Regions from separate parts of the Homo sapiens genome. Here all the other regions are linked to region 7. Evidence: promoter capture Hi-C in 16 types of primary human blood cells and fetal thymus (Javierre and others, 2016). All regions are on one chromosome and are shown on one strand. Each heading gives the region's core, a stretch centred on a gene start or on the middle of the fragment in contact. The rest is flanking DNA. Distances are from core to core; before and after follow the strand shown.

The links. Contacts are between HindIII fragments. The CHiCAGO score rates a contact against its expected background, and 5 or more counts as called.
Region 1: a fragment that was not itself captured here is called in contact with the fragment with the promoter of MCF2L2 in region 7 in 2 of 17 cell types (fetal thymus and megakaryocytes); the score reaches 5.9 in fetal thymus.
Region 2: a fragment that was not itself captured here is called in contact with the fragment with the promoter of MCF2L2 in region 7 in 1 of 17 cell types (M1 macrophages); the score reaches 5.0 in M1 macrophages.
Region 3: a fragment that was not itself captured here is called in contact with the fragment with the promoter of MCF2L2 in region 7 in 1 of 17 cell types (megakaryocytes); the score reaches 5.4 in megakaryocytes.
Region 4: a fragment that was not itself captured here is called in contact with the fragment with the promoter of MCF2L2 in region 7 in 1 of 17 cell types (M1 macrophages); the score reaches 5.3 in M1 macrophages.
Region 5: a contact is called between a fragment that was not itself captured here and the fragment with the promoter of MCF2L2 in region 7, in 4 of 17 cell types (endothelial precursors, M1 macrophages, megakaryocytes and 1 more). The highest score is 6.6, in endothelial precursors.
Region 6: a contact is called between a fragment that was not itself captured here and the fragment with the promoter of MCF2L2 in region 7, in 1 of 17 cell types (endothelial precursors). The highest score is 5.4, in endothelial precursors.

What each region holds. Positions count from the first base shown.
Region 1 is chr3:183,832,522-183,836,598 of GRCh38, reverse strand. It overlaps PARL (presenilin associated rhomboid like), which reads left to right. Exons shown (of 10, transcript NM_018622.7): 8 at 2,774-2,875; 9 at 3,010-3,107. Among named protein-coding and RNA genes, the nearest start is that of MAP6D1, 9.0 kb to the right of the region's middle. The HindIII fragment of the contact is 651 bases long and covers 1,992-2,642 here.
Region 2 is chr3:183,048,142-183,052,139 of GRCh38, reverse strand. All of the region lies in intron 9 of MCCC1 (methylcrotonyl-CoA carboxylase subunit 1), which reads left to right. Among named protein-coding and RNA genes, the nearest start is that of MCCC1, 49 kb to the left of the region's middle. The HindIII fragment of the contact is 1,144 bases long and covers 1,834-2,977 here.
Region 3 is chr3:183,871,049-183,874,821 of GRCh38, reverse strand. All of the region lies in intron 1 of PARL (presenilin associated rhomboid like), which reads left to right. Among named protein-coding and RNA genes, the nearest start is that of PARL, 12 kb to the left of the region's middle. The HindIII fragment of the contact is 3,561 bases long and covers 127-3,687 here.
Region 4 is chr3:183,032,157-183,036,450 of GRCh38, reverse strand. It overlaps MCCC1 (methylcrotonyl-CoA carboxylase subunit 1), which reads left to right. Exons shown (of 19, transcript NM_020166.5): 14 at 2,374-2,460. It overlaps LOC124906309 (a long non-coding RNA gene), which reads left to right and starts at 2,467. Exons shown (of 2, transcript XR_007096188.1): 1 at 2,467-4,294. The HindIII fragment of the contact is 3,389 bases long and covers 1,084-4,294 here.
Region 5 is chr3:183,813,379-183,817,618 of GRCh38, reverse strand. MAP6D1 (MAP6 domain containing 1) reads left to right here. Exons shown (of 3, transcript NM_024871.4): 3 at 183-1,697. The coding sequence ends at 263. Among named protein-coding and RNA genes, the nearest start is that of YEATS2-AS1, 5.0 kb to the right of the region's middle. The HindIII fragment of the contact is 3,273 bases long and covers 1,268-4,240 here.
Region 6 is chr3:182,918,722-182,922,849 of GRCh38, reverse strand. ATP11B (ATPase phospholipid transporting 11B (putative)) reads right to left here. Exons shown (of 30, transcript NM_014616.3): 30 at 1,221-4,128. Among named protein-coding and RNA genes, the nearest start is that of DCUN1D1, 60 kb to the left of the region's middle. The HindIII fragment of the contact is 761 bases long and covers 2,444-3,204 here.
Region 7 is chr3:183,427,321-183,431,372 of GRCh38, reverse strand. It overlaps MCF2L2 (MCF.2 cell line derived transforming sequence-like 2), which reads left to right and starts at 2,754. Exons shown (of 30, transcript NM_015078.4): 1 at 2,754-3,471. The coding sequence starts at 3,396. RefSeq lists a silencer at 2,925-3,004. The HindIII fragment of the contact is 2,747 bases long and covers 737-3,483 here.

The sequences.
Region 1 (4,077 bases), core at 1,068-3,567, 410 kb before region 7:
ACTTAAACTGTGTATGAATGTGAGCGTTTTCTGAGAAGAGAAGGGTTCATTTTCATTAAATTCTTCTTTCTGACTCGAAAAAGTGAAAAAAGTCTCTCTGCATGGGAGTAAGCCCAAATATTTGTCAAAAAACAAGTTGTGATTTATTCAGACATATAAATATTTAAATTTATATAAAAGCCACATCGAGAAAATTCTAGAAGGATGATGGAACTGTGTATGTAATAATTACAATAAGTTATAATCACAAAAAAACCAGCGTTCCATGGAATTGTACAGATAACGACAATTTTTTTTAACAGATGGAGAATAATCATCTATGGAATAGTAGTTTAGAAGAACTTCATAGAATTTTTTTTTTTTTTTTTTTTTTTTTTTTTTGAGATGGAGTTTCGTTCTTGTTGCCCAGGCTGGAGTGCAAAGGTGCGATCTCGGCTCGCTACAACCTCTGCCTCCCGGGTTCAAGCAATTCTCCTGCCTCAACCTCCTGAGTAGCTGGGATTACAGGCATGCACGACCATGCCCAGCTAATTTTGTATTTTTAGCAGAGACTGGGTTTCTTCATGTTGGTCAGGCTGGTCTCGAACTCCAGACCTCAGGTGATCTGCCCGCCTCAGCCTCCCAAAGTCCTGGGATTACAGGTGTAAGCGACTGTGCCTGGCAGAACTTCATAGAATTTTAATGCTCTTTCATATCAACTAATCAAATTATATTTGCTTCATTTTGGGGAAACGTGTAATTTTGATTTGTTTTGGGGTTTTTTTGAGATAAAGTGTCACTCTGTCGCCCAGGCTGGAGTACAGTGGCTCAATCTTGGCTCACCACAACCTCAGCCTTCCGAGTAGCTGGGACTACAGGCGCCCACCACCACGTCTGGCTAATTTTTGTGTTTTTAGTAGAGACGGGGTTTCACTATGTTGGCTAGGCTGGTCTTGAACTCCTGACCTCAGGTGATCCACCTGCCTCGGCCCCTCAGAGTGCTGGGATTACAGGCGTGAGCCACCGTGCCCGGCTACAATTATAGTCTCTTGCACAGAAGCCAGCTTGGTCAAAATTCAGGTCTTCTTGGGTCCTCCTTTTGAGGAGTGTTCATGCTGTCCTTCCATCTTGCAGTTACCCTGACTTCTAAGAATGCAACCCGAGCTTGTTTCCCTGTTGAGGCCACTTGGCAGTTATATGAGGGACTGGGGACATCTGAGATCTCTGGGACTCATAATAATTTTCTTTAAAGTTTTAGTAATTCCCCAAATGTAAGATAATCTTGTATTCTGAAGCAACCCGTCACATAGAAGACATTAAGAAAACATTGATTAAGAGAGGTAGATGCTATTTTCCAGAAACAACCGTTTTTATATGAAAAGGTAGGAACCTTTCTTTTTAATGATAGGGGCTTCTTTCAAAAGTTATTTTGCTCTTAGGTGTCTTTTTTTTTTTTTTAAACATCTCATTCATAAATAATTAAAAACTTATGGAAAGTTGCAGGAAATAGTACAGAGGACTCCCATAAAGTCTTTTTTGTTTGTTTGTTTTGTTTTGTTTTGAGACAGAGTCTCGCTGTTTTACCCAGGCTGGAGTGCAGTGGGACAATCTCGGCTCACTGCAACCTCTGCCTCCCGGGTTCAAGCAATTCTCGGGCCTTAGCATCCTAAGTAGGTGGGATTATAAGCATCCGCCACCACGCCCAGCTAATTTTTTTTTTTTTTTTTTTTTTTGTATTTTTAGTAGAGACGGGGTTTTACCACGTTGGTCAGGCTGGTCTCAAACTCCTGACCTCAGGTGATCCACCTGCCTCGGCCTCCAAAAGTGCTGGGATTATAGGCGAGAGCCACTGCACCCAGCCCCATGTAGTCTTTTTAAAAAGCAGGCAACTCAGGTTTACTAGTTAACATGCAAAAAACTGCACATATTTAAAGTTTGGTAAGCTTTGACATGTAGACACCCGTGAAACCATCACCACACTCAAGATCATGGACATATTCATCCCAAAAGCTTCCTAGTGGTCACTCCTTCCTGCCCCTCCTCTACCCCTGGCGACAACTTACCTACTTCTACTAAAGATAAATTAGTTTGCAAATGGAACCATACAGCATATACTAGTATTTGTTGTCCTGGCCTCATTTACTCTGTATAATTACTTTGAGACTCATCCATGTTCTGTGTATCAGTTTATTCCTTTATTATTTTTGAGACAGGGTCTTACTCTGTTGCCCAGGCAGGAGTGCAGTGGTGCAATCATAGCTCACTGTAACCTTGACCTCCTGGGCTTAAGGGATCCTCATGCCTCACACTGTGCTGGAATTACAGGCGTGAGCCACCACACTGGCAATGTTTTGTTTCTTTATGAAGATGAATAAAGATTTCACATGAATTTTTTAAGATGAAACATGCTTCATGCATGCAGGTTTCTTTGGGCGTATTCATGCCCACTCCCTCTGGTTGGAGCTTTGTCAGAGAAGTGTGAGCAGTTCTTTCCTAGGCCATAGGTGAAAGATGCGCATGACACGCTTAGCACTGTCCTTGCGGTTCATGAGGCACATACATCTTACTGCCCCGTAGTAAAAATTCAGTCTTTCCAAGCGATTACTGTGTGAAGGACATTTAGTTCCTTCACCTATTATTGGGGACATAAGTAACTGAAAGCTTTGAAGCTTTGTGCTCACCTAGAAATGTGCAGCATGTAAACTTTCTAGAAAATGTGCTGCTCTTTAGACCTTGTAGCCACTAAGCAGTTGCATATTGAGTTTCCCATTCTCCCTGCTGTGTTACTTTGCAGTCTGGTGCCATCATGACAGTCCTCGCAGCTGTCTGCACTAAGATCCCAGAAGGGAGGCTTGCCATTATTTTCCTTCCGATGTTCACGTTCACAGCAGGGAATGTAAGTATTTTTATGAAGTGCAGTGCTGGGGATAGTGGTGATGTTTTTATGTTGAGTGGGTTCTTGCCCTTAAGTTAGAAATGTCAGTGCTGGAGCAATCACAGTTGTGCCGCTTGTTTCTTGCTGCCTTTCAGGCCCTGAAAGCCATTATCGCCATGGATACAGCAGGAATGATCCTGGGATGGAAATTTTTTGATCATGCGGCACATCTTGGGGGAGCTCTTTTTGGAATGTAAGTTTGAGTGTAATTGATTGCTAAACTGCTTCCTTGGGTCATGCGCTCCTCCTACCCCAGCCTCACCCCTACCCCCCATCCCCATGGCAGAGACATTGAACTATGCAACGGAAGCAGAAGCAGGTGGGCTTGGGAGGGTGAGGAAACCTCAACGTGGCTTGCTTTGGGTTTACCCAGCATACCTGGCTCATTGTAGAGACAGTCTGTGCCTTTACCCTACGCTTAACCTTAAGTTGCCCCAACTGTTGGCCTGTTATTCCCAGCCCCCTCTTAGAAGACTGCAGCCTGGCCCCCAGTCTATGCTGACATCTTCTTTTTCCCCTTCAGACTTTCCTGCCCTCCTCTCCCCTGCCTGGCGTCCCACCCTGCTACCCTGACCTCTGTCTCGCCAGTGCTATTTAGACATGCTGAGTTGGCGGAGCCATTGCTCTGTATGACTGGAGTAGAGGCCGGTGACTGCAAACCAATGTGGACCACTTACTGAGTACCCGCTGTATGCAGGCACCAAGCTAGTTCCCTTATGTTATACTATTACTACTCCCATTTTACTGATGGGAAACTGAGGCTCAGACATCATCTTCCCCAGGCCAAACAGCTCTTCAATAGCAGAGCAGAGCTGTAAACCCACCTCTATAAGCCCTTTCCACCCCCACCACACCATATGGAATTGGTTGCTAAACTGCTTCCTTGGGTCACAGCAAATGGCATTGTGGTTACAAGACCTTCCACGTGTGCTTCAAACAATGGGGTTTTGCCTAGACTAGTGCTTAGTAGTAACTGTATCACGGAAACACGGTCAGGACTCTTGGCGTCCATCTGATCGTGGGAGACCCGTCAGCATGAGCTGGATCCCCTCGGGGCCTGTCTTTTCTTACATAAATGTTGCCTTTTGCCCTTACTTGGTTTTTATTTTGTTCCGCGACAATGGAAAACTTAATTTTTTTTTTTATTAAAAAGAAAAATCTAT
Region 2 (3,998 bases), core at 1,156-3,655, 380 kb after region 7:
TAATGGAAGAGACGTAACAGTGTTTAATTTATGTTTTAGAAGGCAAGAGAAACACAACTTTTAAATCAGTTGCTTTCAAGCTGTTTTGACCATATTCACAGTAAGAAATACATTTTATATTGAGACTTAGTATGTACACATAAATGTTTATTTTTACATACATATATATTTGAAACAAATGTTTCATTAAACAGTACTTGTCTTAATTATATGAGTTTTGATATTTTGTATTCTATTTTAAAATCACTAGATTGATTTTTTTACTTCTTTATGGTTAATAAACTTTCTCTTTTAGAGCAGTTTTAAGCTTACAGCAAAATTGAGCAAAAGGTACAGAGAATTCCCATATACCCCCTGTCCCCCACTCGGATACCCCCCAACACACAAGCTCCCACAGTATCAATATTCCTGCACCAGAGAGGTACGTTTGTTACAGTCAGCGACCCTACATTGACACATCATTATCACCCAAGTCCATAGTTTACATTAGGGCTCACTCTTGGTGTTGTACATTCTGTGAGTTTTGACAAATGTATAATGATATGTATCCACCATTGTACTATGGTATAGAATAGTTTCAGTGCCCTAAATATCCTCTGTGCTCTGTCTATTCATCCTTTCATCCCCCCTAAACCCCGGCAGCCACTCATGTTTTTACTGCCCCCATAGTTTTGCCTTTTCAAGAATTTCAGATAGCTGGAATCATACAGTATGTAGCCTTTTCCGATTGGCTTCTTTATAATATGCATTTAAGTTTCCTCCATGTCTTTTCATGGCTTGATAGCTCATTTCTTTTTTATGCTGAATAATATTTCGTTGTCTCGATGTCTCAGAGTTTATTATCTATTTAGCTACTGAAGGACATCTTGGTTGCTTCCAAGTTTTGGCAATTATGAATAAAGCTGCTATAAACACCCTGAAAACAAACAGGCTTTTGTATGGACATAATTTTTTAGTTTATTTGGGTGAATACTAAGGAGCGTGCTACTGGGTCACATGGTAAAAGAATATTTAGTTTTGGAAGAAACTGACAAACTCTATTCTAAAGTGACAGTACTATTTTGCATTCCTGTCAGCAACAAAAGAGGTTTCCTGTTGCTCCAAATCCTCTCCAGCTTTTGGTGATGTCAGTGTTTTGGATTCAGGCCATTTGGTATCTCATTGTTTTAATTTGCACTTCCCTAATGACATACAGTGTTGAACATCTTTTCATATGCATACTTGCCATCTTTATATCTTCTTTGATGAAGTGTCTGTTCAGGTCTTTCACCCATTTTTTAATCAGGTTGTTTGTTTTCCTATTGTTGAGTTTTAAGAGTCCTTTGTATATTTTGAATGACAGTTCTTTATCAGATGTGCCTTTGCAAACACTGTCAGTCTGAGGCTTGTCTTCACTTCTCAACTTTCCCTTTCTTTTTTTTTTTTTTTTTTTTTGAGACAGAGTCTCACTCTGTCTCCCAGGCTGGAATGCAATGGTGTGATCTCGGCTCACTGCAACCTCCGCCTCCCAGGTTCAAATGATTCTCCTGTCCCAGCCCCCTGAGTAGCTGGGATTACAGGCACGTGCCATCACACACCCAGCTACTTTTTTGCATTTTTAGTAGAGGCGGGGTTTCACCACTTTAGCCAGGCTGATCTCAAACTCTTGACCTCAGGTGATCCGCCCACCTCAGCCTCCCAAAGTGCTGGAATTACAGGCTTGAGCCACCGCGCCCGGCCGACTTTCCTTTTCACAGAGCAGAAGTTTTAAGTTTTAATGAAGTCCAGTATATAAATTATTTGTAGATCATGCCTTTGGTGTTGTATATAAAAAGTCATCACCATACTCAAGCTTGTCTAGGTTATATTATACTCAGCTGGCCTTGTGCTTTCTGTTTTGGAAGGTTATTAATTATTGACTTAATCTCTTTAATAAATATAGCTATTCAGATTCTCTTTTTTTAATTTAATTTTATAGAGACAGGGTCTCATATTGCCCAGGCTGGTCTTAGACTCTTGGCCCCAAGGGATCCTCCTGCCATGGCCTCCCAAAGTGCTGGGATTACAGGCGTGAGCCACCATACCTGGCCTATGCTCACTGCAACCTCCACTTCCTGGACTCAAGTGATCTTCCCACCTCAGCCTCCCAAGTAGCTGGAACTACAGGCATGTGCCACAACACTCAGCTAATTTTTAAATTTTTTAGTAGAGACAGGGTCCCCCTGTATTGCCAAGGCTGGTCTCAAACCCCTGAGCTCAAGCAGTCTTCCCACCTTGGCCTCCCAAAGTGTTGGGATTACACACATGAGCCACTGCACCTGGCCCTAGGTTCTCTCTTTCTTGTAGGAGTTTTGACAGATTGTGTCTTTGAAGGAATTGGTTCATTTCATCTAGGTTATCAAATTTGTGGGCATAGAATTATTCATAATATTTCTTTATTATCATTTTAATGTCCATGGGACCTGTAGTAATAGACCTCTTTTTGTTCCGTTACTAGCAATTTGTATTTTCTCTCTTCTTTTTTTCTTAGTTAACCTGGCTAAAGGTTATTGTGCTTTTGTTTCTTTTCTTTTTTCTTTTTTTTTTTTTTGAAACAAAGTCTCATTCTGTCGCCAGGCTGGAGTGCAATGGTGAGATCTTGGCTCACTGCAACCTCCGCCTCCTGGGTTCAAGCAATTCTCCTGCCTCAGCCTCCCGAGTAGCTGGGAACTACAGGTGCACGCCACTACACCCAGCTAATTTTTATATTTTTTTAGTAGAGATGGGTTTCACCATCTTGGCCAGGATGGTCTTGATCTCTTGACCTTTTGAGCTGCCCGCTGTGGCCAAGGTTACTGATTTTATTGATCTTTTCAAGGAACTGGTTTGGGTTTTGGTGATTTTTTTCTATTGATTTTCCATTTTCAATTTCATTAATTTTTGCTTTAATTTTTATTATTTCTTCTGCTTACTTTGGATTTAATTTGCTGTTCTCTTCTCATTAATTAAAATATAAGCTTAGATTCTTGATTTTGGTATTTTCTTTTCTAATATATACATTCAATGCTATAAATTTCCCACTAAGCACTGCTTTTGATGCATTCTACAAATTTTGAAAGTTGTATTTTTATTTAGTTGAGAATATTTTAAATTTTTTCTTGAGATTTCTTTATTGATTCAGGTGTCATTTAGAAGTGTGTTGTTTAACATCCAAATATCTTAGGATTTTCCAGATATCCTTCTGTTAGTGATTTCTAGTTTAATTCTGTTATGTTCTGAGAGCAGACACTGTTATGATTTATATTCTTTTAAATTTGTTAAGATGTGGTTTATGGTCCAGAATGTGGTCTATCCTGGTGAATATTCCTTTCTAGCTTGAGAATGTGTTCTGCTGTTGTTGGATGAAATAGTCTATAGATGACAGTTGTATCCAGTTGATTGATGGTGTTGTTGAATTCAACTATGTCCTTAGTGATTTTCTGCCTGCTGGATCATCCATATCTATTTAATAACAGATGGGTGTTAAAGTCTCCAACTGTAATAGTGAATTAATCTATTTCTCCTTACAATTCTTTTTTGCTACATATATTTTATGCTCTGTTGTTAGGTACATGCATGTTAAAAATTGTTATGTCTACCCTTTTATCATTGTTTAATGCCCCTCCTTATCCCTGATAACTTTCCCTGCTCTGAAGTTTGCTCTAAAATTAAGATGGCTACTCGCACTTTCTTTGGTGTTAGCATATTCTTTGTCTGTTTTTACTTTAAGTCTATAAGTCTTTAAAGTGGATTTCTTGTAGGTAACATATATTTGTCTTTTGTTTTTTAATCTACTCCAACAATCTCTGTCTTTTAATTGGTATATTTAGACATCAACATTTAAAGTGATTATTAATGTACTTTGATTAATATTTACCATATTTATTATTGTTTTCTATTTATTCCCCTTGTTTGTTCCTATTTTTATCTTTCAGACTTTTTCTGCCTTTCATGGTTTTAATTGAGCATCTTCTATGATCCAATTTCCTCTCCTTTTTTAG
Region 3 (3,773 bases), core at 658-3,157, 440 kb before region 7:
GGGGTTACAGCTGTGAGCCACCATGTCTGGCAAGAATTGTTTCTTTGTATTTACAAGTTGGCTATTTGTGCCAGAGGCTTAGCTCCTGGCCTATCTCAGCTTTTGACATGCCTTCTTCACTAAGCTTAATTATTTCTAATTGGCTGGGCACTTTGGGAGGCCGAAGCGGGAGGATCACGTGAGGTTTGAGTTCGAGACCAGCCTGGCCAACATGGCGAAACCCCATCTCTGCTAAAAATACAAAAATCAGCTCGGTGTGGTGGCAGGTGCTTGTAGTCCCAGCTACTTGGGAGGCTGAGGCAGGAGAATCGCTTGCACCCGAGAGGTGGAGGTTGCAGTGAGTCGAGATCGCGCCACTGCACTGCAGCCTGGGTGATAGAGCAAAACTCCATCTCAAAAAAAAAAAAAAAGATTATTTCTAATGATTTCAAGCCAGAGACATGTGACTGTTCCTTTCAGCTTGAACACTTAGCGGTGATTGTAGGGTTATTAATTGACCAGTGTCAATATTGTTGTGTTCCAAGGAATAGGGGGGTCCAAAGAGAGGGAAAGGTGGGCAATGGCTGGTTGGTAGAGCAGTCAGAACCTACACAACATTATTAAGTTCATTGTCTCATGGTTCATGGCACCCAAAACAATTTCAGTAGTAACATCAAAGGTCACTGATCACAAATCACCATAACAGATAAGAAAAAATTGAAGTGTTGTGAGAATTACGGAAATGTGACACAGAGCCACCAAGTGAGCGCATGCTGTTGGAAAAATGGTGCCAAAAGACATGCTAGATGTATGGTTGCCACAAACCTTCAATTTGTGTAACAAACTTGGGATATCTGTGAAGTACAATAAATCGAGGTATGCCTGTGTGTGATGTATTCAGTATGTGTACCTACTGATAAGTTCTGAACTTAACCCTGGGGCCAGCTTGTGTAATGTACTCTTAATGTCCTCAGCTTGATGCACACTTCTGGTGAGATCCTCGAGGTATATATTTTAGGCAAAAAGGTCTGGCTTTGCCTCAAGTCCAGATTCCCAACCTAGCGTGTTTATGTTCCTTTTAAAACTTGTGCTTCAAAATTTTAAGTGAATTGGTGACAGGTAGAAGTAGTTTTTTATTAGAATTGATTGTGTAGTATTAAGCTGTTGGAAATACAAATCCTTTGTATTTCTTATCCTTTGTATTTCTCAGTCCAGTACATGACAAATGCTAGGAACCAAGATTACTGGGTTACAACTTGCCATCTTTAATTAATTAATTAATTTTTTTTTTTTTGAGACGGAGTCTTGCTCTGTCACTCAGGAGCTCTCACACTGGAGTGCAATGGCGTGATCTCGCCTCACTGCAACCTCTGCCTCCTGGGTTCTAGAGAGTCTCCTGCCTTAGCTTCCTGAGTAGCTGGGATTACAGGCATGTGCCACCACGCCTGTAATCAAAATACAGGCGTGCGCCACCACGCCCAGCTAAGTTTTGTATTTTTAGCAGAGATGGAGTTTCACCATGTTGGCCAAGCTGGTCTCGAACTCTTGACCTCAGGTGATCCTCCCACCCCAGCCTCCCAAAGTGCTGGGATTACAGGCGTGAGCTACCATGCCCGGCTGTCAACTTGTCATCTTTATGGTAAATATATTCCTATTACTTTATGATACACCTTTGTTTTGGCCCAAAGTGGCATTACTTGTTTTGATTAATTAATTGCGACTTTACTTACTAGACCTATCTCCAGGTTACTTTGGGATCTTTAAATCAAATCCAGTTGCAAAAAGTTAACATCTACCACTTTAAAAATTATACCAGGAATACATTTGGCAGTAAATAAACTGATGGTTGTTTAAATAAGAAGGGGAGTTATTTATCAAATATAGGATGATGGGAGGTAAGTGGCTAGTGTCTTTGCTCAGTGGCTCAAAAATGTCAAGGTTAGTGTCTGAATCCCTTGGCCTTTCTCTTGGCATTTGAGATGACTGCCTCGTCTCTAGGCATTATATTCTTATTTAAGGCAGAAAGAAGGGGGTGTGCTTGACATCAGTGACGTGTCCATTTTTATCAGGTAAGCAAAACCTTTCCAAGGGGCTCCTGAAAAATTCTTATGTTTCATTTGGCTGTAATCCTGTGTGATATGGTTACCACTAGCTCTAGGGGAGCCTGGAAAAGTGAAGATATTTCCTATTACAGAAAAAGCAGGCAAGGGGAAAGGGTTGGAAATAGATTTGGGATTAGCTATTCAACAGGGTTTGCTAAAGGATATTCGTTATAAGACTGGTAACAGGCTCTGAAGGGAGTTAAGAGCCATTTAGAGCAACAGTACCATTGGTTGCATAAGTTTATAACTTTCCAAAATAGATGAACTTACTCAAACCTTTTCTGCTTTTTCTGTAATAGATTTCTTTGAAAGGAATATCACTTATTTGGAAGTATAAATTCTGAAATTAAAATCTCAAGTCAAATTATAATCACTTTCCTCACTGTGATTTCTGAGTTGAATTGAGTGGACTCAGTGTTGAAGAGAAAGGGCATTCTTAGGCCAGGCATGGTGGCACATGCCTGTAATCCCAGCACTTTGGGAGGCCGAGGCGGGTGGATCATCTGAGGTCAGGAGTTCGCGACCAGCCTGAATAACGTGGTAAAACCTCGTCTCTACTAAATACAAAAAAATTAGCCAGGTGTGGCAGTACATGCCTGTAATCCGAGCTACTTGGGAGGCTGAGACAGGAGAATCGCTCGTACCTGGGAAGTGGAGGTTGCAGTGAGCTGAGATCACGCCATTGCATGCCAGCCTGGGCAACAAGAGCGAAACTCCATCTCAAAAAAAAAAAAAAAAAATGCATTCTAGGCAAGTAATAGTAGTAGTAGCTATGCTATTATTCTGAGTTTCATTTATTTCCAAAATGCCTATTAAGATACCTCCACCTGGATGTCCTATGAGCATTCTTTTAAATACTTTATTGAGATACAGTTTACATATAGTAAAATGTATAAGTATTAAATATACAGCCAGTGCATTCTGATTAATGTATACACCTGTGTGACTATCACCTAAATCAAGATAAAGATGGCCGTCATCCCAGCAAGTTTCCTCTTGCTCCTTTCCTGTCAAGCCCCACCCATTCCAGGCAATCGCTCATCTAATATTTATCACTACAGGTTAGTGTGTCTGTCAACTTCTTAGCAATGGAAGTCACAGAATCACATATCATGTACTCTTTTGTATTTTACTTCTTTTGCCAAAAGTGTTTTTGAGAGTTATCCATGATGTATGATTAGTTCTTCCCCACCCCTCCCCCCCAAGCCTTTTTTTTTTTTTTTGGCCAAGTGTAATATTCCATTATATGAATATACCACAGAATTTCTCCTGTTAATGGAAATTTAAGTTTCAGTTTTTAGCTAGAGGAATGAAGCTGCCATGACTGCAAGCATTTTAAACAGCACCCCAGCTGGAATTGTTCGTCTCTTATCTCCCAGTTGCCTATTTTGAGGCTTCCAATTTTCCTTATCTTATTGAATAGTACCACCTTACTTTGAATATAGTACCACCTTACTTTGAGTATAGTACCACCTTGAGTATAGTACCACCTTACTTTGAGAATAGTACCACCTTACTTTCAGTATAGTACTACCTTACTTTGAGTATAGTACCACCTTACTTTGAGTATAGTACCATCTTACTTTGAGTTACTCACAATAAAGCTTAATCATTTTTTGATCCCTTTTTTATTCTGACAGATAATTATTGACCTTTTATTAGGGACTAGACTTGGTGATAGAGATATAATGA
Region 4 (4,294 bases), core at 1,529-4,028, 390 kb after region 7:
AGCCCTACTTTGTTTTGTCCTCTGTACCTGCAGCAACTCCCTTTGTCCCAGAGTCTCAAGACAATCTAAGACTGGAGACTTAGATTCCCCAGGGTTACCCATGACTTATTGTCGAATTACTTCCGCTTTTTCCATCCTGTGATTGAATGTCTACCTAGAGACTTCATAGTGTCATAGAATCCAAGCATAGGAAGGGCCATAGTGGGGTTCATCCTGGCTACCACACATATGCATTGCATCCCTACCCCAGCACACCCACTAAGCTGTTGCCCAACTTCTTCCTAACACCTTGGGAAACTGGAAGTTCATTACCTCATCAGGTAGCTTACAGTTTCAGTCAGTTCTCCATTAGAAAGTTCTGCCTTTAAACCAAACACCGCATGTTCTCACTCATAGGTGGGAATTGAACAATGAGATCACTTGGACACAGGGTGGGGAACATCACACACCGGGGCCTGTCGTGGGGTGGGGGGAGGGGGGAGGGATAGCATTAGGAGATATACCTAATGTAAATGACGAGTTAATAGGTGCAGCACACCAACATGACACATGTATACATATGTAACAAACCTGCACCTTGTGCACATGTACCCTAGAACTTAAAGTATTAAAAAAAAAAAGTTCTGCCCTTTAAATTGATACAAAATCTCAGCTCTCACATACTTTTTGCATTTCAGGCTAGCTCTGACTTTCGGAGCAAACAGAATTTTTAAAAATCTGATCTATTTTTCTCTTTTATTGGTAATTATTATATTACCCTATACAGTTTGAGCATCCCAAATCCCCAAATCCAAAATGCTCCAGAATCGGAAGCTTTTTCAGCACTAACATGATGCTCAAAGGAAATGCTCATTGGAACAGTTCAGATTCCAGATACTTGGATCAGGGATGCTAAGCCAGTTAAATATAATGCAAATAATCCAAAATCCAAAAAAAAAAAAAAAAATCTGAAATTCAAAACACTTCTGGTCCCAAGCATTTTGGGTAAGTGATACTGAACCCGTATTATTATAGGATCCTATCATTAGAATCTTTAATTTCTGAATTCATTTAGATTCATTCAAGATAGCTGTATGGAAAGCTTAAAATGTAAAATGTTTTAAGTCCCGAAAACTGCATCTTTAGAAGATTTGTGCTCTATCCTCATTTTATCCTTTTACATTGAATGAAAATGCATCTAAATACGTCCCATGTGGTATTCCTGAGCCTGACCTTAACGTTTTTAGAATGGAACGTTGTCTTACTGTGACCTTCCTTTTGAAAGTTTATAATTGGTACAGATATGAGGTTCAGAATAAATTGCATCAGCTTAGCTATGCTGAAGCTCCTGGATATTGTCCAATAGAGGATATACACCCAAATGCCTATAAGGGGCCAGGCGCGGTGGCTCATGCCTGTAATCCCAACACTTTGAGAGGCCCAGGGCGGGTGGATCACTTAAGGTCAGGAGTTTGAGACCAGCCTGGCCAACATGGTGAAACCCCATCTCCACTAAAAATAGAAAAGTTAGCCAGCTGTGGTGGCACCCACCTGTAATCCCAGCTACTCTGGAGGCTGAGGCAGGAGAATCACTTGAACCCAGGAGGTGGAGGTTGCAGTGAGCCAAGATCATGCCACTGCACTCCATCCTGGGCGACAGAACGAGACTCGTCTCAAAAAAGAAAAAAAAAAAAGGCCTATAAGGGCTGGGCCAACAACATAAAAACATAAAAGAGTAAAAGAGGCCAGGTGAAAGAAAAATAGTGAATAGTAGAGACTGGTGACCTGGAATGAATTTGCCCCATCAAAAGGTGGTGACTGTGGTACAGTTTATGCCACTATGGGATTAGAGTTTAGATTGCAAATATTCAGATTCTTCAATAGAAGCTAGAATTTTTCACATGAAATTTCATAAGATGTAAACAAAACCAGCCCTTTAAACTTAACAAGAAGAACAAAAAAAGCACATCTGAGCTGCCAGTTTAGGACGTGTGTTTTTTTGTTTTTTTTTTTTTTTGAGACGGAGTCTTGCTCTGTCGCCCAGGCTGGATCCGGTGCAGTGGCGCAATCTTGGCTCACTGCAAGCTCCACCTCCCGGATTCACGCCATTCTCCTGCCTCAGCCTCCAGAGTAGCTGGGACTAGAGGCGCCCGTCACCATGCCCAGCTAATTTTTTTGTATTTTTAGTAGAGACGGGGTTTCACCGTGTTAGCTAGGATGGTCTCGATCTCCTGACCTCATGATCCGCCCGCCTTGGCCTCCCAAAGTGCTGGGATTACAGGCATGAGCCACTGTGCCCGGCCAGCACTTGCATTTTATGTTTTCTTTTGTAAGGTGTAAATTTCATAGGCTTGATACTCATAAGTTTGTTACTGAATTTTAAATTTTTTCTAGATCAATTCTCTCCATTTTCGTCTAGCAGTGGAAGAAGACTGAATATCTCGTATACCAGAAACATGACTCTTAAAGATGGTAAAAACAGTAAGTAATGTTTCATTAAAAGAGAAATGTGAGTCATAGAAATGTATCACATTAATCTGAAAAAGAGGATTCCAGCCTGGCCATGATCAGTCAGTTACATTTTTTAAATGCCTAGGCTAAACATTGGAGGGAAATATGCCAATATAATAGAATTGATTGGCTCTGGGTAGTAGAGTTGATGGTATTTGCTTTTCTTCTTTACACTTTTTAAAAATTTTGTAAATATTCTAAAAATATGTCATAAAATAAACATAGCAAAACAGCTGAAATGAAATATGCCAGAATGTTAGAAATATGCCCAAAAAAACCTCTTTTTCCCCAATTCTTTGTACTTTTTTTTTTGCTTTGCAATTTTTCTGCAGCGAGAATGTATTACTTTTAAATAAGAAAAACAGTTTTCAAAACTATGTCAGAGAGGGACGATTACCCACTGCCCATGCAGTGTTTCAGGGGTTTCAGGTGGAAGTGGGTCACTGCAGAGCTGTAATTTATTAAGTGCCTTATCTGATGTAAGTTTTTATCTTCACAACGTAAATGAGGGGGAGTCGCTGTTATACCCACGTATGGAAGATGAAAGCATGGATGGTAAGGCACAGAAGTGAAGTAGTTTAGTCAAGGCTAGTGAGTGGCAGAACTAGGATTCACACCTACTCTTTGTGACATTGACTCTTAGGCTGTTTCCACCACTTTTCCAGTAGAAAATTGATTTTTGATTGTAAACTAATTTGAGTTGGCTCGACTTAGTGACTGATTTTCTTTAACTGATGTCAAAAGAGGCTGACGCTTAAGCCAGAAGGCAGTTTATAAACTTTTGGCTGGAGCAGTGTAGCAGCAGGACCAGAATTCTATGATAGCTGGTCACTGTATCCCTTCTGCTGTGAGACAGTTTGTGTGGGAGGCCCAATGGGCAGAGTCAGAGCTCAGAATCCTGGCTAACCTTGAATGTGACATGTCATTGAACTGTGACAGTTCTGGTATAAAAATATGCCTCCCAGGTAGAGCAGAATACTTTCACCAGCTGATCACAGAACGCTCTTCCTTGGACAGAGGAAAATCTCTTTTACTTCACCTCTATGAAGACACTCACCCAGTAACAAATTTTTTTTTTTTTTTTTTTGACACAGACTCTGGCTCTGTTGCCCAGGCTGGAGTGCAGTGGCACGATCTTGGCTCACTGCAAGCTCCACCTCCTGGGTTCGTGCCATTCTCATGCCTCAGCCTCCCGAGTATCTGAGACTACAGGCACCCACCACCACGCCCGGCTAAGTTTTTGTATTTTTAGTAGAGACAGGGTTTCACCATTTTAGCCAGGATAGTCTCGATCTCCTGACCTTATGATCCACTCACCTCAGCCTCCCAAAGTGCTGGGATTACAGGCGTGAGCCACCATGCCAGCCAGTAACAAATATTTTGTTCACACAAGTTTATTGGGTTACAGCTCTTCAGTTATTTTTCAATCCTGAGCCTAGATGGTCATTATCTTAAGTGCATTGGGCATATTGTTAAGCCTTTATAATGAAAATTTGTAAACATCTTTATATAGTAGCATTCTGCAAATGGTTAACCCATCCATTTATGCTCATTTCATCCTAAAAAATACAACCCCCCAAATCTGGAAGTATCTTATTCTAGACTCCTATATGCTGAATGCAAATATCAAAAGCGGTAAAGTTTCACTGGCTTCTTCAACCTGAATTGAACAGAAGAATTACATATTTGATTGTAATTCATATAGGCCAACTGTGTTATTTGGCATGGCTCTTCACTAAAGCACCAAGCACTGATTTGAAGTATGTTGCATTTTTTGGAATTAAAAAAAGTTTTCATGAAAAAA
Region 5 (4,240 bases), core at 1,655-4,154, 390 kb before region 7:
CTCAGCTGCTAATGCAGTGACGCCTATGGCTCACGGTGGGCAAGTCCCCTCTGACCCTTCAGGTCTCAACTCCTGGAGGATGCAGAGGATGGGAGGGGATTTTTTCCTGGAGCTGGGTAGTGGGGAAGAGTAGGGAGTTAAGGAAAAGTCCCACTGATATGTGGCCACACTTCATTTTTCAGGTCCCAGAGGTGAGGAAGAAGTTCACTCCTAACCCCTCCGCCATCTTTCAGGCCTCAGCTCCCCGGATTCTCAACGTGTGACTGCCTGCACCGTGACACCATGGCTGCCGACAGGACAGGGCTGGGGAGCGGCCTCAGGACCCACTGCCGCGGGGCTGGGCGAGAGCATGGCATGGGCCCCTGCGGGAGGGCACAGCCCCTCTCAAAGCTGTCACCAGGGCCAAAGTGCTGGTGTGGAGCAGATGCACCGATGGACTTGGCACACCCAGCTCAGCCTCAAGCATCCTCTTGAGAAGCCTGTGGAAGGCTCCTGCGTTCGTTAACTGCCATCTGGCCGTCTCTCAGTTTTGAAATCTCTGAGGAGCCTGAGGATCAAGTCAGTTGGGAACCGAATTGGTCCATGGAAGCTGAGGAATGTGGACACATCCGGCCCTTGAAAGAACCAGTTATGTCCACTTTTGGTGGATTTCCCAGGATGCGTGAGCACTTGATTAATTTCATAACCTACAGTGAGACCCTTGGCTCTTCCTACAAATGGCCCCTGCAGTTGAAGCTGTTGGAATCTTGGGCCGTCACCTGCATGACTCATGGTGATGCTGAGTATCCAGGAGGAAATTTCCAGAAGAAACAGACCGTCAGTCACGGGCTTCCACTTCACAGACCTCCTTATGGCCAAGATGAGCCTCATGTTTTAACAAAACAGTTCTTGGGATTGAATGACTCACATTTACCTTGTGCTAGGTTCTAAAGATTGAATCCACATTTTGTTACTAATGATTTTCCCGCTAACATAAGGATGATGAGCAGGGCACTATCATACACACTGGCTGAGAACTGGAACTGTTTTTGGGAAGGTGGCATTTGTCTCATTCCCTGAAATACCTTAAAATGTCCTCTACACCAACCCTTCCGTCTACCCTGCTCACATGTACAGTGACGGGGAACTCACCACCTTTTGAAGAGGCAGTTCATTTTCTTTGCAAAGCTCTCTCCTAACTTCCTCCGTAAATTCCAGCCAGCATGGCCACATGGGTCACGCCTGGTGCCTTCACACGTTTGAGGGGTCTTCGTCTCTTTTTAAAGCTTAGAGGTACAAGCTCAGGACAGTCTTCAGTAAGGAAATTTGTGGATTTCCCTTTGGATCTTTCTTCCTCTCCAGCCCACAAGTGGCTCTAGTGAGACGAGCATTTAAGCTGCAGGTGGTGGCACTCGGGTCTCAGAGCCACCAGACGTGCAGGTGGGACAGTGGTTCCAGCTCCGACTGCCTGTCAGCGTCCCTCCCAGGTGCTAGCCCTGGCAGGCACAGCCCTCCCCTCATGCCAGCAAAGGAAATGCTCTTGATGAGAGGCTCGCTTTAAAGAAGCCCAAAGCGTGTGCTTATCCAAGGGGTTCAGCTATTCCTGACTTCACGGCTTGCATGTTTGATTTTTCTAAGAGAAAAGAGGCTGCCTGCTGGGTGTCTGTGGAAATGAGATTAAAAACTGTACAATCTCAGATTTTACTAAAATGCAAAAATGTAGTTTCAGTTTCTTAAATTATAAGCACGAGTCTTCTCACGCTTGTTTTCTCCAGTCTCTTGGTGCTAAGGACTTCAGTGTGGTGCAGCTGCCGCCACACCTCAGAGGCCTGTTGATGCTGAGCACTTCTTGCTGTGGGGTGCAGAGCACATGTGGTAGGTGCAGCCCACAGAACCCACCCGTCCCCTACCCTCACCCAGGCGCCTCTCTCTGAAGCTCCTCAGGCTCTAATCCCAGCTTCACTTGCTACCTGTGAGCAACTGGGGTTCCGTTTCTTCACTGAGAAGTGACGACGCTACCAGCTACACCTTGTGGCTTGCCAAGAGCATCCGTGTTTATGGGTGGGGTGCTCAGTACAGGAAATAACTGAGGCACAGGTGTTAGGATTATTCTTTCCTGCCTTAGTCCCCCCTCCTCACTTTCCCTGGGAGCCAGCTGTGTTCCCACCTGCAGCTCCCAGCATCCTCTAGCTTGATGCCGTGTGCTCCCAGCCCCTCACCCCCCCTGGCCAACGTCACCCTGCACAGCGCCCAGATGCTTGTTTGTTCTTTTCCTATAATGGGCTGGTCAGCTCTGCTGCAGCTCAGCCAGGACCAACCGGGCCTGCCCCTTCCTGGCAGTGCTGGTGGGGCAGCCGCAGTGGAGGCCTCACCACACCAGACAGGCCTGACTGCAAGACAAACAAACAGATGGTCAAGAGCCTCTGCAATGCACAGCAGACAGCTTTTCACAGACACCAACTCCAGTGTTGCTCTGAGGGTGCATCATCATCGAGGCAGGGTCTTGCTTTGTCACCCAGTGGTGTGAACACTGCTCACTGCATCCTCAACCTCCTGGGCTCAAGTGATCCTCCCGCCTCAGCCTCTCGAGTAGTTGGGACCACAGGGGCATGCCACCATGCCTGGCTTTTTTTTTTTTGGCTGTCACCCAGGCTGGAGTGCAGTGGTGCAATCTCGGCTCACTGCAACCTCTGCCTCCCACGTTCAAGCGATATTCTCCCACCTCAGCCTCCCGAGTAGCTGGGATTACAGGCGCCCACCACCATGCCCAGCTAATTTTTGTAGAGACGGGGCGTCATGTTGGCTGGGCTGGTCTCGAACTCCTGACCTCAGATGATCCTCCCATCTCAGCCTCCCAAAGTGCTGGGATTACAGGCGTTGAGCTATCACACCCGGCCATTTTTTATTTATTTTTGTACATTTTGTAGAAACAGGGTCTCCCTATGGTTGCCCAGGCTGGTCCTGAACTCCTGGGCTCAAGCAATCCTCCTGCCTCAGCCTCCACAAAGCACTGGGATTGCAGGTGTAAGCCACTGCACCCAGCCTGGCCTCTTTATGAGGAGATGTGGGTTATGCTGAAACTCCTTCCCACTCACTTAGGTCTAAATAATCAGGCCTAACATGTTCAGCAAGTGACCCAAGAAGCAACTGAGACAGACAAGTCTCAACCATGTGGTCCCAACTCATAGCTATCTATCAATCATCTCTCACACACATACATAATACGCATATAAGACTGAAAGAAAGGCACTGAGAGATGTTAGCAGTGATTATCTTTCAGAGGAGGAATTATGAGTAGTTTTTCAAACACATTTTTTATGCTTGCTAAAGTTTCTGTAAACATTTTTATAATAATTCTGTAAAGAAAAAGTTCTTAAAAATAAAAAGCAAGCCAGGCATGGTGGCTCATGTCTGTAATCCCAGCACTTTGGAAGGCCAAGGCAGGTGGATCACTTGAGGTCAGGAGTTTGAGACCAGCCTGGTCAACATGGTGAAACCCTATCTCTACTAAAAATACAAAAATTAGCCAGACGTGCTCACTTGAACCCAGGAGGCGGAGGTTGCAGTGAGCTGAGATCGTGCCACTGCACTCCAACCTGGGCGAGAGAGCAGACTCTTTTTTTTTTTTTTTTTTTTGAGACAATGGAGTCTTGTTCTTGTCACCCAGGCTGGATGGAGTGCAATGGCACGATCTCGGCTCACTGCAACCTCCGCCTCCCAGGTTCAAGCGATTCTCCTGCCTCAGCCTCCTGAGTAGCTAGGATTACAGGCACCTGCTACCACGCCTGGCTAATTTTTATATTTTTAGTATAGACGGGGTTTCACTATGTTGGCCACGATGGTCTCGATCTCCTGACTTTGTGATCTGCCTGCCTCGGCCTCCCAAAGTGCTGGGATTACAGGCATGAGCCACCGTGCCCGGCCCAGACTCTGTCTCTAAATAAATAAAAAGCAGTTCAACATGTTAGCAAATTCCAGACAAAAGAAAATGTTAACTTTTTAATTATTTCACAACCCAAGCTGCCACTGCGGGAGCTGCCTCAAGCAGCCACGGGCTGCACTATGACGCTCTGCAGGTGGAAAGTCCTAAAGATCCTTCCGCAAGTCGAGGGGGTTTGCAGGCATTTAGAACAAGGTCTCGCCTCTCTGTGCTCCATGGTACAGAACTCCAGGACTCAGGCCACGTTCCCAAAAGCAGCTTTTGAAAAAAGCTAGGCCCTGCAGCCCACCCCAGACAAATGGAAGAACCTCCCCTTTGAAC
Region 6 (4,128 bases), core at 1,575-4,074, 510 kb after region 7:
CACAGAGACGCTGAGCAACAACGCCAGACACAAAGGTGACACACTGTGTATTTCATTTACATAAAATTCAAGAGTAGGCAAAACTAATCATCTAAGACAACAGAAATCAGAAAATGGTTGCTGGGACAGGACCAAGAGGGGAATAAATTCACTGCAAAAGGCACAAGGGACCCTTGAGGAATGACGGAAGGGTTCTTAACCTGGATTGGGTTAGGGTTACATGGGTGTAGAGAGTTATCAAAAGTGAGTAACTATAATCCTAAAATCGATACATTTTACTGTGTACAAATTACATCTGAATACAAACCATTTTCCCTTAAATTAGTATTTAAAAATTTGATTTATCACAGGGCTCTCTGGCTGTTCATAGAGAGGTGTGGTGACTTACTTATCTCCATTTACAATAGCCTTTCCTTTGAGTCAGTTAGCTCTTCAATATAAAACTTGAATTGTTTTTGAATTCACTAATTAATTTTCTAGTGAGATGCTTCTAATAAAATTTTTTTGTCCTAAATAATTTATTCATTATTCATCATGTTCTACTTGTATATTAGAAGTTAAAGACAGTAGTCGCCCTAAAGATAGTCCAAACACTCCTTTTTAAATATAAAAACAGATGCCTAAACTGATTTGTCTAGGATCGTATTCTTATTACATCTCAAAAATACATTACATAAATCATGCATTGTCATCCTTTGCAAATACTAAAAACTGGGCAAAGACAACAGCTTAACTTTTTAAGCAGATGTAGATTAGACAATTATGTCTGTTCTAACTTGCAACCGAGGAAGCAGTGCAAATAACTGGTTGTCAGGAAGCTGGAATATTTTATATGGACGTATACATTCTATTATCAATCAATCAATCAGTCCTATATTTTTAAAAAAGCACATATTTTCTATGAACCAGGCCATTTCCAAATTCACAAGTGCTCTTGGCTGGCTTTTCATGAATGATGCAATTTCTAGTTGAGGTATGCTGGTATCTACAGCTGGCACATTCCTATCAGAGCCTTTTCCAGGAGTTGTACTGATGATGATCTATAAAAGCTGGGTAAGAACTACATTTTAAAAAACTGCAGTCAGTGAAAGGCATAAATGATATCCCTGTGCTATAATGAAGGGTAAATACAGTAAAACTTAACTTGAAACAAGTTTGGCAGTGCAGGTTGTGATAAACAGAGACAGGCTTAAAATGCTTAAATAAAGGAACACTTTTAATTATATAGGAAAGTTTTTATTTGATAAATATAACTTCATAAACTTTAAAAAATTATGAGTAGCTGTACAATAATATACTACATTTACTGACAATGCAGAGAATTTTTAAAGGATTACATTAGACAGCCACAGTGTCTCAGGTCCAAAATTTTAAACCAAGTATTGCTACAATATTTCCAGATACTCATTCCTCATAAAAATCTAAATTACCATGATTACAAACATATCATGAGTTATGATCTATTTTTTATAGGAACAACATTCAAGTTATTTCACATAAAACAGCACTTTAATAGTGTTTTACTTTTATGAAAATAGATAACTCATTTCAAAATAGAAATAAAATGTCTGTACGTGGGGACCAAAATTAATAAAACATGTTTTACGTAACTCTTTGGTGTGTTATTTTTATTAATACCTGCTTATATCATACCCCAAACTGATCTTTACAGGAAAAACACCAACATGGAAGATTCTCCCTTTTCCTACAGCCTTCACGAGATTTTTCAGAGTAGCATATTTTAAAAACTTTTGGCTCTTAACTGTCAATTTTCTAGTGGCCTTGACTCCTGCCTATTAGGAGTCTCAAGCGATCAGATAAGTTCAATCTCACAATCTTTTCCAGTAGAAATGACCTCAGTCCTGGTACTAACCGTAGGGCAGAATGCAAGTATTTCCTAGGGTTGATTTGCCTCTGTTTAGTCTCCTGTTCAGGATAGGGCCTGGGTGTGGCTCAGGTCTGGAAGCCTTTGTGTATTATGAGCTTTAGACCCAAGAAAGAGGACAGTTAGAAAATTCAGACCATAAATTCTCCCCTTTTCTCAACTCGACAGCAGGTCTTCGTAGCTGTAGTTCTCCCTGGCCCATACTTTGCTCCGCCCAGGGTGAGCCTACGCCTGCTGAAGCTGAGGCAGGGTGCTGAGTCACTTAAAGCAGCTGAGGGGCAATTTTGGAAACTGACTTGGTGCTTGCCACTATCTTCAGGCTTACAGCCCTCAGACGAGGCAAAGGGAGGCAAATCGATTTGAGACCACTGATTAGCAATAACGTATTTAGCATTTTGCTCTGGTTTTGGCAGATAAGGGTAAGTTAATTATCAACATCATACTTTCCAAAGAAAGAATTTTAAAGAAATATGCAAAGGGGACACTTTCCTTGTGATTACTGGTTACGTAGTAAGAGTTTTACAGGATGAATATAGCACTAGAAAACTACTGAAAGCTTGCAGACTGCATTGTTACTTTCTTAAATAAATAGAAAACTCTTTTCTTAAAATCACAAGATAATTTTGCTTTAAAAACGGAGTGGATTTGGAGTAACAGTTCAGGATGAGCACACTAGTGGTTGCCATTTACTTTTTTTAAAAAAATAAAGTTCTCCTTAACTAACTTCAAATGGTGAGTACAGAAAATTACATCAATCACACTTTAAGCACCATTATAGGCGAGCTGACCTCCTGTCTTGCTGCAGTTGGTCATAGGCTATTTTATGACTTTGGAGTCTTTGTCTGGTGTCAGTACTCAGTTTATTTGATGGCAAATAAACACGGTCATGTAAATGTAATGCAGGCCTACTGGGTGTCATTTTGTTATATGCACGTTTTATAAGAGATTTTATGAGCAAATTTCCATATCCTCCCACCTAGTACTCTACTGAGTATATCTTCATTATTTCCTCTTCTGGAACATGAATTAGTGAATGCAGACATTGTACGTTGTATTATTCTTTTTAGTACTTCCAGAATAACAGATCTTCCTAAATCCAGCTATGAAATATCTAAGTTAAAGAAGGACTATTTTTGAAAATTAATATTTAGCTTAATAACTTAATATCCTTACATCACTGGAACAGACAAATGTTACATTAGCAAGAAAATAATAGTTTACAAGCAAACAAGGATAAAGTCTTAATTTCTGTCTCTACCATTCTTTCCCCTGCCAGTCCAATTCTAGAAGCCTTATATTCATGAAATGGGAAGGAAGCTTAGGGCTGCACAATAAATCTCCATAAAGGAATTACATTTTCAAGGGAAAACTTGGTAAAACCGCATTTAACCATTATCTTAATATGTATACAATCATTATTTGCTTAGAGCTGGGTAATAGTTCTCAAGCTAATAATCACTTCTAAATCTTAAGACAACATTACTTTTCAATAAAACAAAAACAAATGACAATACTGAACTACTTGATAAATTCAGGATGGAAGTTAGGTTTTGAAGTGCAATGAGTTAATTACAGTAACATGTACCCGATTAATCATTCTTAGCATTTAATTTATTGCTAACATTACCTGATACAAGTTGAGCATTTTTACATTCCACAGCCACACCTGAAATATGCCTTGTACTGGGACACTGGCAGAACTCACTGTATTGTGGTAGTTTGCTATAAGTTAGATGACATAACCTGAAAATAAGATTATTAACTGAAACCCTTTATTCTAAAATCTAGCTTATAGAAAGGGAAGAGCATGTCTAAGTCGGCTGCAGAAAGAGGCTCTTCTTTTTGTATTCATTTAATTACCCATACTATTCTGATTTGTATAATTAAACATATTTGCAATATTTAAATACTGTCCAAACTTTTTATTGATATAGTTAAACTGTACAACGATGTCATGAAATACTATACACAGAGCCTTCAGGTAAAGAGAAAAAAAGCAAATTTAAATATGTTAACCAGATTAAAGCATGCAAAAGATCCAATGATAAAGACATTAAATTAATAATATGCTAATAGTATCTAATTTACCCACTATAGGGTCTTTATACTCTGTCACAAAAATATTAGTAAACATCAATTTGAAGTTCGGTGAACGGACCTGATTCCTGATTTGTATATATGATATACCCTTGCATTTATATGGCTAACTTTACAGGCTGTGTTACAGTACAGTTAGAGGAATT
Region 7 (4,052 bases), core at 1,505-4,004:
AGGTGGGAGGGTGGGAAGAAAGAAGACAGAAAGAATGTCAGTGTTCATGAGAACAATGGAGACAATGACCATTTTCTTGGAAGAACAAGGAGGTATGAGCTATTGAACACTATGTGGTCATTTCTTCTTCTTCTTCTTCTTTTTTTCTTTGAGATGGAGTCTCACTCTGTCACCCAGGCTGGAGTGCAGTGGTGCTATATTGGCTCACTGCAACCTCTGCCTCCTGGGTTCAAGCGATTCTCCTGCCTCAGCCTCCTGAGTAGCTGGGATTACAGGCGCCCACCACCGTGCCCGGCTAATTTTTGTATTTTTAGTAGAGATGGGGTTTCGTCATGTTGGCCAGGCTGGTTTCGAACTCCTAATCTCAGATAACCCACCCACCTCGGCCTCTCAAAGTGCTGGGATTACAGGTGTGAGATAATGCACCCAGCCGATCATTTCTTCTTAATTCCAGTTATAGGATTTCAGAGCTGGAAAAGGGAACTTGGAGATCACAGACCCACTTCCTTACTGCCCAGGGGAAGCAGTGAAGGCCCTGAGAGAGTAAGTGTCAGAGATAAGAGCAGAATTAGTTTCTGAGGATAGGCACTGCCTGCTACATCTCACCATAACTTGAGCTCATTTATCTCCATGGAAACCTTTGAGGACTGTGAAAGTACCAAAGATGTGGGCAGCACTCTGAGTGTGATTTATTTCCTTTCTGTTTTCTTTTTGTTCTCATTCTTAATCATAAGCTTCTCCTCCCTCCTTTTCCTCTCCTCCATTCCTTCTCTTCTTCCTTTTCATGTTTCTCACCCATAAGGACCCGGCCTAAGCCAGGAAGCTGAGGTTACTGGATCTTCAAAGTGGCTCTGACACTCCAAGTCCAACATACCCCACATCATTGTCTTCTTTACTAGGCGTTGGTTTCTGCTGACCAAAACTCACAGTTGGCTGTGACTGGGCACCAGGGTTCTGACTACTATCAGTAGGAAACATCTCATTTGGTTCCTTGAAAATTCTTGTGACCCTTGAACGCCGGAAACATAATTCAAAAGCTGCCTCCCCTCCTGCGGATCTTTAACCTTTCTTTTTTTTTTTTTTTTGAGATGGAGTCCCATTCTGTTGCCCAGGCTGGAGTGCAATGGCACGGTCTTGGCTCACTGCAACCTCCGCCTCCTAGGTTCAAGCAATTCTCCTGCCTCAGCCTCCCGAGTAGCTGGGATTACAGGTGCGTGACATCATACCCAGCTAATTTTTGTATTTTTAGTAAAATGGGGTTTCACTATGTTGGCCAGGCTGGTCTTGAATGCCTGACCTTGTGATCCGCTCGCCTTGGTCTCCCAAAGTGCTGGGATTACAGGCGTGGGCCACTACGCCCGGCCTTTTAACCCTTTTTTGAATCTCTTGCAAAAGGTGGTTGTGAAAATGGTTGCTCAGTGGCCGGGCATGATCACTTGAGTCCATGTGTTTGAGACCAGCCTGGGCAATATGGTGAAACTCCATCTCTAAAAACGAAAAAAAAAAAAAAGAAAGAAAAGAAAAAGAAAATCCTTGCTCTGTTTTGCAGGCAGAGTGCAAAGTGCCCAAACTTCACAGGGGGAAGAACCTCTCCACAAATCTCATGACACAGGTGAACTGACCTCGCTTCTCAATCACAGCCCACAATTGTTAGAGAAAGCATTAAAAAGGGCTGGGCGCGGTGGCTCACGCCTGTAATCCCAGCACTTTGGGAGGCCAAGGTGGGCGGATCACGAGGTCAGGAGATCGAGACCATCCTTGGCTAACACGGTGAAACAAACCCCATCTCTACTAAAAAATACAAAAAATTAGCCGGGCGTGGTGGCGGGCGCCTGTAGTCCCAGCTACTCGGGAGGCTGAGGCAGGAGAATGGCGTGAACCCGGGAGGCGGAGCTTGCAGTGAGCTGAGATCGCGCCATTGCACTCCAGCCTGGGCGACAGAGCCAGACTCAGTCTCCAAAAAAAAGAAGAAAAGAGAAAGCATTAAAAAAATACCCTCAGCCCCCTGTGATGGGTGGCTACTCCTAGAATTTGGATCCAGGGTGTTTGCGGCTTGGCTTTTTACATATCGAAGAGGAAAGAGATGGCTGAGAACATCCGCCTGGGTGGTCCCGCCATTCCGCCTGCTGAGTATTCAGGGACTCCCGCTGTAGAAAGGATTGGGGGACAACCTGACCGAATTCGCATTTGCTCAGGCGTTTCCCGTAGCGCTCTGCTGAACTGGGGTTAGTCTTTTGCTGCCAGTCAGAAAGTGTCTGGGCCCAACTAGGGAAACCACGGGATAATGGGCTGATGGGGAGGAGGACCAGCATGGAGGATGTGCCACAGCCCCTCCAGAAGGTAGCACTGGCGTGCCTGACAGGTGACAGACGGAGCAGAGGCAAGGGCGCAGCTGCACGAAGGAAAACGCCCACATAGGGGGTGAGCGCGCCCACGCGTGCTCAGCCTTGTCGGAGCGCAGCCCGGGCGCCGGGCTCCCAGTGCAGGTGTGGCCAGCGGAGGTCAAGAACTGCGTGGAACAACCCCAAGTGGGGGAAAACACACGCCAGCCGCCCCCGGGGTCAGGAGGTGGGGCAAGCAGCGGCGCCTCACCCAGCCTCCCGCTCCGGGTCCTGCCGGATGGCGGCAGCTCTCCGGGCCAGCCCCCTTCTCTCCGCGGCTCCTCCGCAGACACCCGGCGCGGAAGAAGGAGGGGCGGAGACCTGGCCGGCGCGCGTCTGATGATCCGGACCCCGGTGCGACTGGAGCGCCTCAGTCACTGTCTCCCCGCCCCACGGTTCCGAGTAAGGACCGGAGCTCCACTCCGGGGGTGGAGCGCGGGCTCCCCGCAGGGAAAGGTGCGCAGCGTTCCCGACCCCAAAACGAGCGGCGCTTGGGAGCGTGCGTGCCTCCCCGAGAGCCCCGGGCGCCACCCGTGGGCTGGACGAGGTGGGCGCTGGGGCGTGGGGCCGGCGGCGCAGAGAAGCCACGGCCACCTGCCGCCTCCCCTGCACCTGGCGGAGCATCCCTCACTCTACAGTCCCTGGAGGCGGCGCCGGAAACCTGGCGGCCGGGACCGCGATTCTGGAAGCCCCGGAGCTCGCCCGGCCGGAGGAGCCGGGGCGCGGTTCCGGCGAGATTGGCGACTTGCTTCCTTTTGCAGAACGGCCGCTCCTCTCTCGGTCCAGCTGCGACGCTGGGAAAGCGCCAGACTTGGTCTGTCACGGGAGCCCCCGCGGGGCGTGGCGAGGGAGAGCTGGCCTAGGCTGCGAGGGACTCTCGTTTCTTGCCTGGAGAGCCAGGAAGAGGGCGAGGGCAGAGCATCCTTGGGCGGAGATGCCTTTAAAAAATCATCCACCGCAGCGGTAGAAACAGTTTTGTTTGGCTTTATTTATACGGAATGGTTTTTCAGTGAAATGCTGTCTTGCTTAAAAGAAGAGATGCCTCCCCAGGAGCTCACCCGGCGACTGGCCACAGTGATCACTCATGTCGGTAAACGAAGCTTTAATTTTTCCTGCGTTTTATTAATGGCGGGTGAGGATGGTCTCTGGGCTTCATCTGGCTCCTGGCCTCACCCGCTGCCCCGGGGCAGCGCGCTTCCTGGGGGGTTGCCCGGCATCTGGGCCTCGCTGCTCTGGGTCCTGCCTGCGGTGCCCAGCGGGGGGCATCCCTGGGGCGCGCCGCTGGTGGGGGTCGGGGGGCCGAGGCTGGTGCCTTCACCAGGTGGTTGCCGAGTCCGTTGAGCTCCAAACCGAGGGCTGCTGGGCTGTTACCATCCGTTAGCTGCTTCTGACGGGAGTAGGGTGGGTGGGAAGTTATGTTCTGGTTTTGGGGATAGTGAGAAAGGAGAGGGCATAAGAGGAACGAATGCCAGTGCTTTTCAGCAGAAATGATTGCCACGCCACTGAAGGCTTGTTTATAAGAAAGTGCAGGGAGAGGCAGGTTACATGGGAGCGCCCCTGCGCAGCTCGGCCGCTAGGCCTGTTTTACTGTGCTGCCTGGAGGGTTAAGCACACCCCTGATGATCCCCGCGAGAAATCTCTGCAAGCCAAGGAGACTGAGCAATTTTAATC